Regions from separate parts of the Homo sapiens genome. Here all the other regions are linked to region 1. Evidence: promoter capture Hi-C in human tissues and cell types (Jung and others, 2019). All regions are on one chromosome and are shown on one strand. Each heading gives the region's core, a stretch centred on a gene start or on the middle of the fragment in contact. The rest is flanking DNA. Distances are from core to core; before and after follow the strand shown.

The links. Contacts are between HindIII fragments. The study calls those that stand out against the background at their distance.
Region 2: a fragment that was not itself captured here is called in contact with the fragment with the promoter of CXXC4 in region 1 in 1 of the 25 tissues and cell types used here (mesenchymal stem cells).
Region 3: a contact is called between a fragment that was not itself captured here and the fragment with the promoter of CXXC4 in region 1, in 1 of the 25 tissues and cell types used here (hippocampus).

What each region holds. Positions count from the first base shown.
Region 1 is chr4:104,493,516-104,497,224 of GRCh38, reverse strand. It overlaps CXXC4 (CXXC finger protein 4), which reads left to right and starts at 2,331. Exons shown (of 3, transcript NM_025212.4): 1 at 2,331-2,524. The region is part of intron 1 of CXXC4-AS1 (CXXC4 antisense RNA 1); the gene reads right to left. The HindIII fragment of the contact is 3,942 bases long and covers 1-3,414 here.
Region 2 is chr4:104,765,088-104,768,849 of GRCh38, reverse strand. No RefSeq gene overlaps it. Among named protein-coding and RNA genes, the nearest start is that of CXXC4, 270 kb to the right of the region's middle. The HindIII fragment of the contact is 3,923 bases long and covers 99-3,762 here.
Region 3 is chr4:104,066,704-104,070,311 of GRCh38, reverse strand. No RefSeq gene overlaps it. Among named protein-coding and RNA genes, the nearest start is that of LINC02503, 110 kb to the right of the region's middle. The HindIII fragment of the contact is 8,203 bases long and covers 1-3,608 here.

The DNA.
Region 1 (3,709 bases), core at 1,082-3,581:
TGTGACCTAATCTAGGTTACCTCATTTCTCTGGGCCTCAATTTCCTTGTTTGTAAAATGGAAATAATAGCCACTTCACAGGATTATTGCAAGGACAAAATAGAATATCTGCAAATTACTTAGTGCAGGATCTGACACTAATGGGTCATTAATAGGGGCTATTATTATTAATTATTAAGACCAAGAATTCTGTAGTTTTCCTTCATTAGCTGGAAAGTAAAATTCATTGGAATTTAGAACATATTTTCTCTCACGTGTTTAAGATTTCATTTTGAAAGTAAGCTTGAAGAGTCCCAAAAAGGAAAGCATGAGAAAAGGAATTTCCAAAAAGGAAAATTTCCAGAAAAGAAAATTTGGCAAAAGAAAGCATGATGTCTTTATTTGATTAAAAACATTGCTTATTTATAAACTTCAAAATTTCTAACATTGGACTGATATTTTAAATATTGTGAAAAGATGTTTAAGAATCTATCATTTTTCTAGCATGTTTTCACTCATTAAAAAGTGACCACATTTTCCTGATAAATTTCCTATGAAGCTGAGCTAAAACAAAATAATCAAATGGAAAATTTCCTTTTTTGCTTTTATAATGCATTAGCACAAGAATAAAAATATCTTATTAACTTGAATAATTATTAACCCTCCAGTTATTTTGTCTATAGATGTCAAATAACCGGTAATAATCAAACAGCTTATGCTTTAAAAAAATTACAAAACATGTATATTAATCAATGAGTCACAAAATACACCTGTTTCCTATTGCAATAGTAGCCCACTCTTGAAATAACACCTTCATTTAGGCATACACACACCACAGTTTCAAACTTGTTATCAACAATTTATCCTCCATAGTTGGTAATGTCTTGATATGGTCAAAGTCTATCTTTTGAAAATTCAAATACAAAATGGTTTAAAATGTCTTTTCAGCTTTTTTTTCTTATTAAAGAAACAAAACATTATATTTTCCTCACTTATCTGAACAATTAATATTGCATTACTCTAGAATAAACACTTAATTTTAATACAAAACTTGTACTCTGCTTGATAACACCAATTTAAATAATCTTAAGTTTTTTCTTTCCTACTCTATAACTTACCTTAGCCACTGTTTTGCTCTTAGAAAAAAAATTATTCAAAAGTATTCATAATTCTGTATCTTATAACTATTTCCACTAGAGTATACTTTAATAGTAGGATAGCATGTGTCCACAAATATTTTATTTGAGGCAGCAGTGAAGAGGTTAATTTACAGCTGCATTTATGAACGAGTTTTATTTATATTTGACGTGCCGTACAATATTTATGTTTCAATTCATAAACTATGTTTTCCCAAGTGGCAAGAAGTGAAATGTTAATTACATACTATTCTAAAATAGACTGAAAGACAAAAGTTTTTGTTTAAGTAAAGTTTGAAATTAAAAAATAGGGCAGTGAGTTAAAAATCTGATTTATTCTTTGGAACTACCAGATGGAATAGTAAAAGAGGATTTTGGGAGGAGAGAGAGAAGAGTAGAGAAGAGAGACAGAGATTGAGATGGATTTTGAAATTGGCCAAGCATCATATCACCGATTTTTTACATTCTGGCATAATAGTACTTCGAGGGTCTGAAGAACCACACCGGTCCGTTTTCCCTTACTTTAAAGATCTAAATGGTATTTTTTTTTAAAGTCTTCCTGGGTACACCAGGAAATTTATTTAAAACCATGCCATTGGGTACGAACTAAGAGCATTCTTCAAACAAACATGACCTTTTCTCTGTTTCTTGTATTGCTCTTCTCAACCCAGCCAGAAATCCCAGACAAGTTTATTTACACACACACCCGCACACGCACGCACACACACACCCCACACGCAGAGTGGCGGAAACGCCCTCTTTCCAACCCTTCCAAACAATTATCTCCGAGAGCAAAAGAAAATAATCAACAGCCCTGTGTGCTGGGCTGAGCCGGAGAGCCGGGCGCGAGGAGGGAGGGCGATCCGCAGGCGAGCAGGGAAAACGTGGCTCCTCTGCCGAGGAGAGGATTTGTGAAAAGGAGCGCTGGCCCGCGTGCGCCTCTTGTTCCCCGTGTAATTTGCAGCCAATCATCAGTAGGTGTCCACGTCCCTGCGTCCTCCTCACCTCGGCGCCAATCACCCCCACCCCCGCGCCCCCGCCCCCAGCCTCCACACCTCCTCCCTCGCCTTTCTCTGTGGCTCCCCTCCCCCAGCAACCGCACACTCGCACACACACAAACAGAGAGAGAAGGGGGGAGGGTGAGAGAGAGGGGAAGAGAGAGAGAGAGAGAGAGGGGAGAGAGAGAGGAGAGACTCCCCGGCTCCCTCCCTCCCTCGCACACAGCGACTGGAGACGGACGGAGAGCAACGCGCTGGGAGAGGAGAGACCACCGACAACAGACCCGCGCTCTCACACATACACTCACACTCGACTCTTTCCTCTCCCCCCACCTCCTCCTCCTTCCACCCCCACCACTAACACCATCTCCTCCTCCTTCTCTCTGCAACAAGAAAAAAAAGCCATTTACAGGTATTTTTTTTGATCCGCATATTTATTTACCCCCCCCCCCCCAACAGTTTGTTTACAAGTATTAAAGTTGTAATTGGGAGCTGCCAAGACACATCTGGATTTGTGTTTCTTTGTGTTAGGGGGTGATGTGCAACTAATTAAAGGCAGACTGGCAGCGTCTGCAAATTCTAAGGCTCCCCAAATAAAAAGAGACTGGTAAGTGATTGTTCTTTCTCTTTCTCTGGCTTTTTTTTCTCTTAAATGTTTGCTGTCCGTTGGGATTGTGAAAGTAGATTATTAATGCTGGACTCCAGCAAGAAAAAGCGTCGCTGTATTAATTTATTAATTAGTCTGCACCCGCCCCTCCTCCTGAATGTTAAATATGACCTTTGATCTCTATGTCTCTGGTAGACCAGACATACAGTATTAGGCATGTAAAGTCACATTGTTTAAAGGCAAAACAGGATCATGAAGTATGGATCTCTAATTTAGCTTTGGCATAGAACTATAGTTATTTGTGTGTGTTTTATTTTGTTTTTAAATAAAATCCAAACAATAGCTGTGGCTTAGATACCTTTTTCATGCTCCAGAGATGCATTGATTAAACAATAATGACCTGGATACTGGGCATAATCATTTTCTACAGTTTCTGGTGGTATTAAACCTTGAGGTAGGAAGAGGGATGGTGATGGCAATCAGAAAAGCAAGGAAAGCTTGTGTTTGGAAACACCACTCTAAGACTCTAAAAAAGGGACGTTAAATTATTTATTTATTTGGAACAAGGTCAAAAGACTAAAAGGTTGAAAATTTTCCCTCCACTCAATGTGATGATATCTAATGCATGGTTGACATAACTAGTTTTTACTGAGTAGCAGTTATTATGGTCTTGCAGTTACAATGTGATTCGCAGAAACTGAAGCTATATGCATATTCTTGCTGTGTCTTCCCTCACCCCTTCCAAGCATCAAGAATATTTAGCCAAGAGCATTTTGGGGGCACCTTTTGTATTGCCCTCAGACCTGAGAAGGCAGCAGTTTTCCCTAATGCGAAACCACAGAGGTGGTTCCTGAGTGATTAGGGACTTGCTGTGATTGAAAGATGCCTGCAAGCTTCTAATCCAGCCTGGGGTGAGGTTCCTTATCTTGATTTACTTTGCCTAATAGGGATTTGTTTACATAAACCCCTCTTTTTAGAGCACCTCATCAG
Region 2 (3,762 bases), core at 811-3,310, 270 kb before region 1:
GATGGGATAGCATGCCAGGAGTTATCAGCATCTCACTTACTACTGCAATAATGGTGTTTGTATCCTTGTGTGTTTGGTGAATGATCCAGGTCCAAAATCTCATCCTGATGGTCTGCTTTCTAGGGCCACTTGTTTCTTAGCATGAGATTAACCAATGAAATATAGCTCAAGGCAAGGGCTTATGTTCAGATAGTTTATTTTGAGAATGGACCCCAAAGAACCAAAGTGGTGGATTAGGAAGCATGAAATAGGGAAGAAGAAAAGGCACTAAAGGATGCATTATTAAGTTGGTCACCACTGTAGGAAACTGGGGCTTGATTCCACCAGGACCCTCTGAGGAACCCTACAGAATTGCCTCAGAATTGTCCACCTGTGGGAAAGAAGAGGGGAGTTTTGTCCGTTGGATCTTATCCTCCATTGATGAATTTTCCCCATTGGCCTTTAATTTCCTTGTACTTCTGGGTTGCACATGTGTGTCTCATAGGTTCCTCAAGGAGTCCCACATTGTGGAGCAAGATTGCAACACAGGGATACTGCTGCAGCATGATTGGAGTATAAGATGGGGTAAAAGGCTGTAAATTGGGCACAAGAAGTGACCAATTATACTCCCTTCTTTTTATTAAAACTTTCCCCAAGTTGAGTTATTCATCTTTACATTCTGCTCCAGGTGCCTCATTAATTTTTTTTTTTTTTGTAGTAGAATCATAAAACATTGGAGCAAAAGGAACCTCTGAGAAATTATGAGAACCCTTTTATACAGATGATGATACTGAGGTACAAAAAAGCTTGTGAATTCTGACAAATATCATAGCATATCAGTGCTAAGATTAGACTTGGAGCTCAGGATTCTTGGTTACCTGCATTTGTTCCTTGAGACTCCCAACATCTTGGAGTTCAAGAGGTCATGTAATTGTTAATATGCAAATGATCTACCTATTTACTTATGGTCTTTTTTCTTTGAGAATAACTACAGTAATGCTACTTATGTTTATTCAGTACTTTACATTTTGTTGAGCAATTTCTATACTTCAGTCCATTTAATCCTCACAGGAACCTTATAAGGGTTGTGTTATTATCACTTCATAGAGTAAGAAATAGAAGTTGGAGAGTCGGTTATCTGTCCATGATCTTGGTTAGCAAATATAATTCTGTCTTTTGAAATAATTGGAATTCTGTCTTGTGAATTCCTTTATTACAAGCTATGGGAAGATGCTTTATAAATGCTAAAGGAGTACACACATATAAAATTATGTCGTTGAGAAATCTTTAATCTTTCATGAAAATGGGTGGTGTCCAAATATAATCATATACAAACACATGCATATACACACAAAGCAGAATAATTATTAATTTAAAATATGTAAAGCTCCTGGCACCATTTGTAGCATAATTGTTGTTTATTATATCAATTTTTTTCAGGTATTTAAAAAATTGTTGAGTACTTATTGAATACCTGGCATTGTTCACAACACTGTGGATCAAAGTCAGAACAAAGTCTTGCTTTCATACAGCTTATTATTAATATTAAAAATTCATGTAATTTATTATTTGCATCCATGACTAGAATTCAAACTGAACATCCTGTGGGCTGTGATATTTTTTATTGAGACAAGCTATGAAAGAAGAAATGACTTTGGCGCCTAGAACAGGTAGGCGAACTGGAGTACACATTCTGTACATTGTAGGTTATTTTCAAAATTGCTCCTCATGATGGAGGGAGACCAATAAGAGGAAAGCAGGTGAAACAAAGAACTTCTGCTTCAAGCACCGAGTTTCCTTACCATTTTCACATAAGTAAAATCACACCCTCATCTCCATTCCTCTTACACCAAGTTCCCAACTCTGCTCAGCCACCAATAAAAGCATCGTCCTCATTTCTAACTTCCAACACTTGCCTACTACTTTTGCCAGCTTGTGGTTACCTATGGAAGACATTTTATGGCCTGAAAATGTCTGGCTTAAGAAGCTCCCCCCCCAAATATGCATAGCAAAACTGATGGTAACATATGGCCCTATATTTTTTCCCTTCTTGCCAGTTCACTAAAATAAATTTACTTTCAATTTACATATTCTTGTCTACATTTCAGAGATTTAAATATATTTGTAAGGTCTGTCCTGTCTATCTTTTTCTGAGATTATGCAACAGCTTTGCATGCTGTTTAGGAAATAACAGAAACTTTTATGATTTTTAGAATCTTTCATTTCCTAAGAAATTTAGAAAAGCTTATGAGATCAGAAAGAGAAAGGCCGAAATGTTAAATTATGTAAAATGTGTAATAATTATTTCTATAAGCTAAGTGGTAATATACTTTTCCAATTTGAAAACAAATCTACTGTCTATAAAACTCTAAATAAAAATTCTATTAGATAGGTACATACTATATACAATTCCATCTAGATCCTTTAGACAAAGGGCATATTTTTAAGATTTATTGGAATGCAAAGGAGATCATGGTGGGGATTTTTCAATGAAAGAAAACCTTATTATGGACCTTTGAATTTGCTAATATGGAAATACTATTATTTTTATCCAGAGATGAGACTCTTGTTCAGTGAGAAAAACTGGCAGGCTCTGTGAGAATGTTTCAAAAAACTGGCTTCCCTCTTCCGGGGTCCAGCCTTAACCATTCTTGAGATTTTCGTCAACAGCGTACTGAATGTGGAAAGGAGTGGTCCTGTAGACAAAGAGTACCCTGTGCCTGTAGCAAGAGTGATCCAAACGTGAAAGGAGGGGACACTTAGCTATGTTTTGCTTGCTTATGGTCTAGATTCTCTTGTGGAGAACAGAGCTGTGACTGGGTCTTTATACATTGATGATAGGACTGGGTCATCAACCTCCCTTACTGATCATGTGGCTACACTCTAGGGAACCATTATTAGGGACCCTTGCCTTTACCCTGAAAAATCATATGGCAGGTAGTATTAAGGATGTTTATGAGGTCAAGAGTAAAGTGAGATATTTTAAGATAATTTTCAGAACAGTGGTTCTTAACTGGAAGCAGTTTTATTTTTTCAGGGGACATTTGACAGTGCCTTAAGTTATTACAACTCCTGAAGGGGGCAACTGGCATCTGATGGGTAGAAGCTACAAGTGTTGCTCAACACTAGAACAAAGAAATCTTGGTTTAGAGTTTTGTTTTCTTTTCTTCTGTTTTTGCTATTTTTGTTTGATGCCCCAAACAGCCATGTTAAAATATAAATATAACCTATTGTTACTGAGTAATGTGTGCAGAGGCACTCCTTATTTTATACCATTTCAGATTTTACTCCATTCTCTCCTTCTTTGCTAAGCCTCTTCTTGCATCTCTCTCCATTTCAGACCCTAATGGTAGCCCATTCCTGACCCCATTCCTAAGCATCATCTCATACCTAAATTTCAACTATAGAATTGGATTCAAATATATTGTAGTTTAAAAAAAAGTTGAAAGTTGAGTGGCCTAGTTCTTTAGACCACAAAATGTTTTCATTGAGTATGATATACCCAAGCTATGATATGTCCATGCACCAGGATGAATTAATGCATTTTACCTATAATACTCAAGTGACTTGTACTCTTTTCTTTTCATAGTGTTTGGCATTATAGGGTAGCCAATCTTCAGACAGAGGAAGTGCCTATTGCAGCACCAAATTTGCTGCACATATTTATGTATATGTAGGGCATTAAAAGAAGGAGATACTAATGTAATTGATAAAAATGAGTGATTATTTTAATTAAAATGCAAAAGAATATGGCAGAGCATCAAATAACATTCCTTTTTGCAA
Region 3 (3,608 bases), core at 460-2,959, 430 kb after region 1:
TAAATTTCATATGGAACCAAAAAAGAGCCTGTATAGCAAAGACAGTCCTAAGCAAAAAGGACAAAGCTGGAGGCATCACGCTACGTGACTTCAAACTATACTACAAGGCTACAGTAACCAAAACAGCATGGCACTAGGCACAAAACAGAGGCCTCAGAAACAGCACCACACATCTACAATCATCTGATCTTTGATAAACCTGACAAAAACAAGAAATGGGGAAAGGATTCCCTATTTAATAAATGGTTTTGGGAAAACTGGCTAGCCATATGCAGAAAACTGAAACTGGGCCCCTTCCTGACACCTTATACAAAAATTTCAAGATAGATGAAAGACTTAAATGTAAGACCTGAAACCATAAAAACCCTGAAAGAAACCCTGGACAATACCATTCAGGACATAGGCATGGGCAAAGACTTCATGACTAAAACACCAAAAGTGATGGCAACAAAAGCCAAAATAGACAAATGGGATCTAATTAAACTAAAGAGCTTCTGCACAGCAAAAGAAACTAGCACCAGAGTGAATAGGCAACCTACAGAATGGGAGAAAATTTTTGCAATCTGTTTCTGACAAAGGGCTAATATGCAGAATCTACAAGGAACTTAAACAAATTTACAAGAAAACAAACAGCCCCATCAAAAAGTGGGCAAAGGATATGAACAGACACTTCTCAAAAGAAGATATTTATGTGGCCCACAAACATATGAAAAAAAGCTCATCACTGGTCATTAGAAAAATGCAAATCAAAACCACAATGAGATACCATCTCATGCCAGTTAGAATGGTGATCATTAAAAAGCCAGGAAACAACAGATGCTGGATAGGATGTGGAGAAACAGTAATGCTTTTACACTGTTGGTGGGAGTGTAAATTAGTTCAACCATTGTGGAAGACAGTGTGGCAAGTCCTCAAGGATCTAGAACTAGAAATATCATTTGACCCAGCAATCCCATTACTTGGTATACCCAAAGGATTATAAATCATGCTACTATAAAGACACATGCACACGTATGTTTATTGTAGCACTATTCACAATAGCAAAGACTTGGAACCAACCCAAATGCCCATCAATGATACACTGGATAAAGAATATGTGGCACATATACACCATGGAATACTATGCAGCCATAAAAATGGATGAGTTCATGTGCTTTACAGGGACATAGGTGACGCTGGAAACCATCATTCTCAGCAAACTAACACAGGAACAGAAAACCAAACACTGCATGTTCTCACTCATAAGTGCGAGTTGAACAAAGAGAACCTACAGGCACAGGGAGGGGAATATCACACATTGGGGCCTGTCAGGGGGTGGGGGTCAAGGGAAAGGATAGCATTAGGAGAAATACCTAATGTAGATGACAAGTTGATGGGTGCAGCAGACCACCATGGCACATGTATACCTGTGTAACAAACCTACACATTCAGCACATGTATCCCAGACCTTAAAGTATAATAAAAAAAGAAGTTATAAGAAATATAAAATAAATATACATTAATTTTAAATGGATTTTCTACTTGTAAAATGTTGCATTAAGCTTGTATGAGTTAATAATTCATTCATTTTATTTCTTTAAAAAGAAATTATAAGTCCTCCAATAAACTATAAAAGAAGTAACATTAGCTGAGGAACACTAACATGATTTCAGATAGAAGAACACCCTGAGTCAAAGTAAGACAAATGGGAGATTTATTCTAACTTATAAGAGAATATTAATTCTCATGATTACCAGACAGAACACTCTAATCCCCAAATTAAGCTCAAAGAAGGTAGACTGAAAAAAATCTAATAACTAAAAGAAGTATTTTTTTCAGAGATATGGCCTAGTCAGTTGGTGTTTGATAAAGTGGACAGAATGTTCTGCTAATCAGGATAAGGTAGATCAGGGCTATTTGAACATTGTGGCTCTTAGCAGAGTAGTGAGTAGAAACCAGGTTTAAACATAGATGTTTCAATGGGACATTGTATAAGAATATAAACTTATTAGAAATCTTGCAAGTAGGAACAGTCTACTTCTACTATAGATTTTCTCTTGTGTTTTGTTTTAATATTAATTATGTTTGTCATTGATAAAATGATAAACATCTTAACTCCTTGGAAATTAATTTTGACTGTATAAAACCTAAATGGTAATTTTTGGACTGTAAATAGTTGTTTGATTCTGAATCACTAGGTTGGGGTTGTTTCTCAGTAAATAAGAGGGTATAGTTACGTAGAAGAAATACGTCCTAGCATTTGATAGCACTGTTGAGCAACTACTGTTAATTATTATACATTGTATATTTCAAAATAATTAGAAGAGAAACTTTGAAATGTTCCTAGCACAAATAAATGATAAATGTTTCAGGTGATAAATATCTGAATTTCCTTGATTTAATCATTATACATTGTATGAGTATATCAAAATATTACATATGCCCTATAAGTATGTATAACTATTATTTATCAATAAAAAAACATTTGGATAGAAAAAATATAGCATCCCTCTCCTTTTTTATTTTGAAAATAATTTTTAAATTATGAACAAAAAAATTAACATGATCAATGGCATTCAGATCATTGAAGTTTTTCTATCAACTGTGTTTAAGACAAGAAGGATAGGAGTATGCAAAAGGAACAAGACATGTATAAGGAACTTGTTTTGTAAAACAAACCTGGAATCTATTTGAGCTTTTCTTCTTTTTTTATGCTTTGCAGTAGTTTATACAGCATTGGTATTGTTCAGTGTTTCAGCATTTTTTTATTATAAACTGAAAAATTATAATTGTATATATATTGGGGTACATGGTGATGTTATGATATATGTATACAGTGTGGAAGGAATAAATCAAGTGAATTAACATATGACCTCACATACTTGTTATTTTTGTGGTGAGAAAAATTTATCTTTTAGCCATTTGAAGTTTGCCAATCATTATTATTAACTGTGATCACCAAGCTGTGGAATAGATGTCAAAAAACTTTTCCCTCCTAACTGAAACTTTATACCAATATCTTGCCATTTCCCCACCTCTTAGCCTCTGGTAACCACAAATCTACTTTCTGTTTCTGACTTCGATAGTTTTAGATTCCACTTAATCATATGGTATTTGTCCTTCTGATCCTGGATTATTTCACTTAGCATAATGAAATTTTCAAAGAACTAGTACTCTAAAACCTGTCTGGTTTTAGGAGTACATTTGATGAGATGTAGTTTTTTCTCTGTTATTATTATTGAACATATAGTTGATTATAATAAATTCCCCAATATTTGGTCCCTAAATCAGTTTCAAATTCTTAGTATTAAAAAAATGAAGTTGATATGATTGATTAAAAACAAATTATAAATTGAAAAACCATAAATTTATAAAATAAATTAGAAAAATGCAGTTATTAAAAGAAAACCTTAGAGATGCTGTGTCTGATTAATATTTGTATACTTTCAATCTTTGTACACTTTTGTGGCAGAGATTGCTAATTGCCTTATCAATATTCATTACCCTTTTCTTCTATTAAAAAAATAGGCATTATAATTGAAGCTATGGCAACGAACCATGACATTTCCAGTCTCTTTTCTTGCCGGGTAGGGTCACATGACCAATTCTGGCCAATGGTATATGAGAAA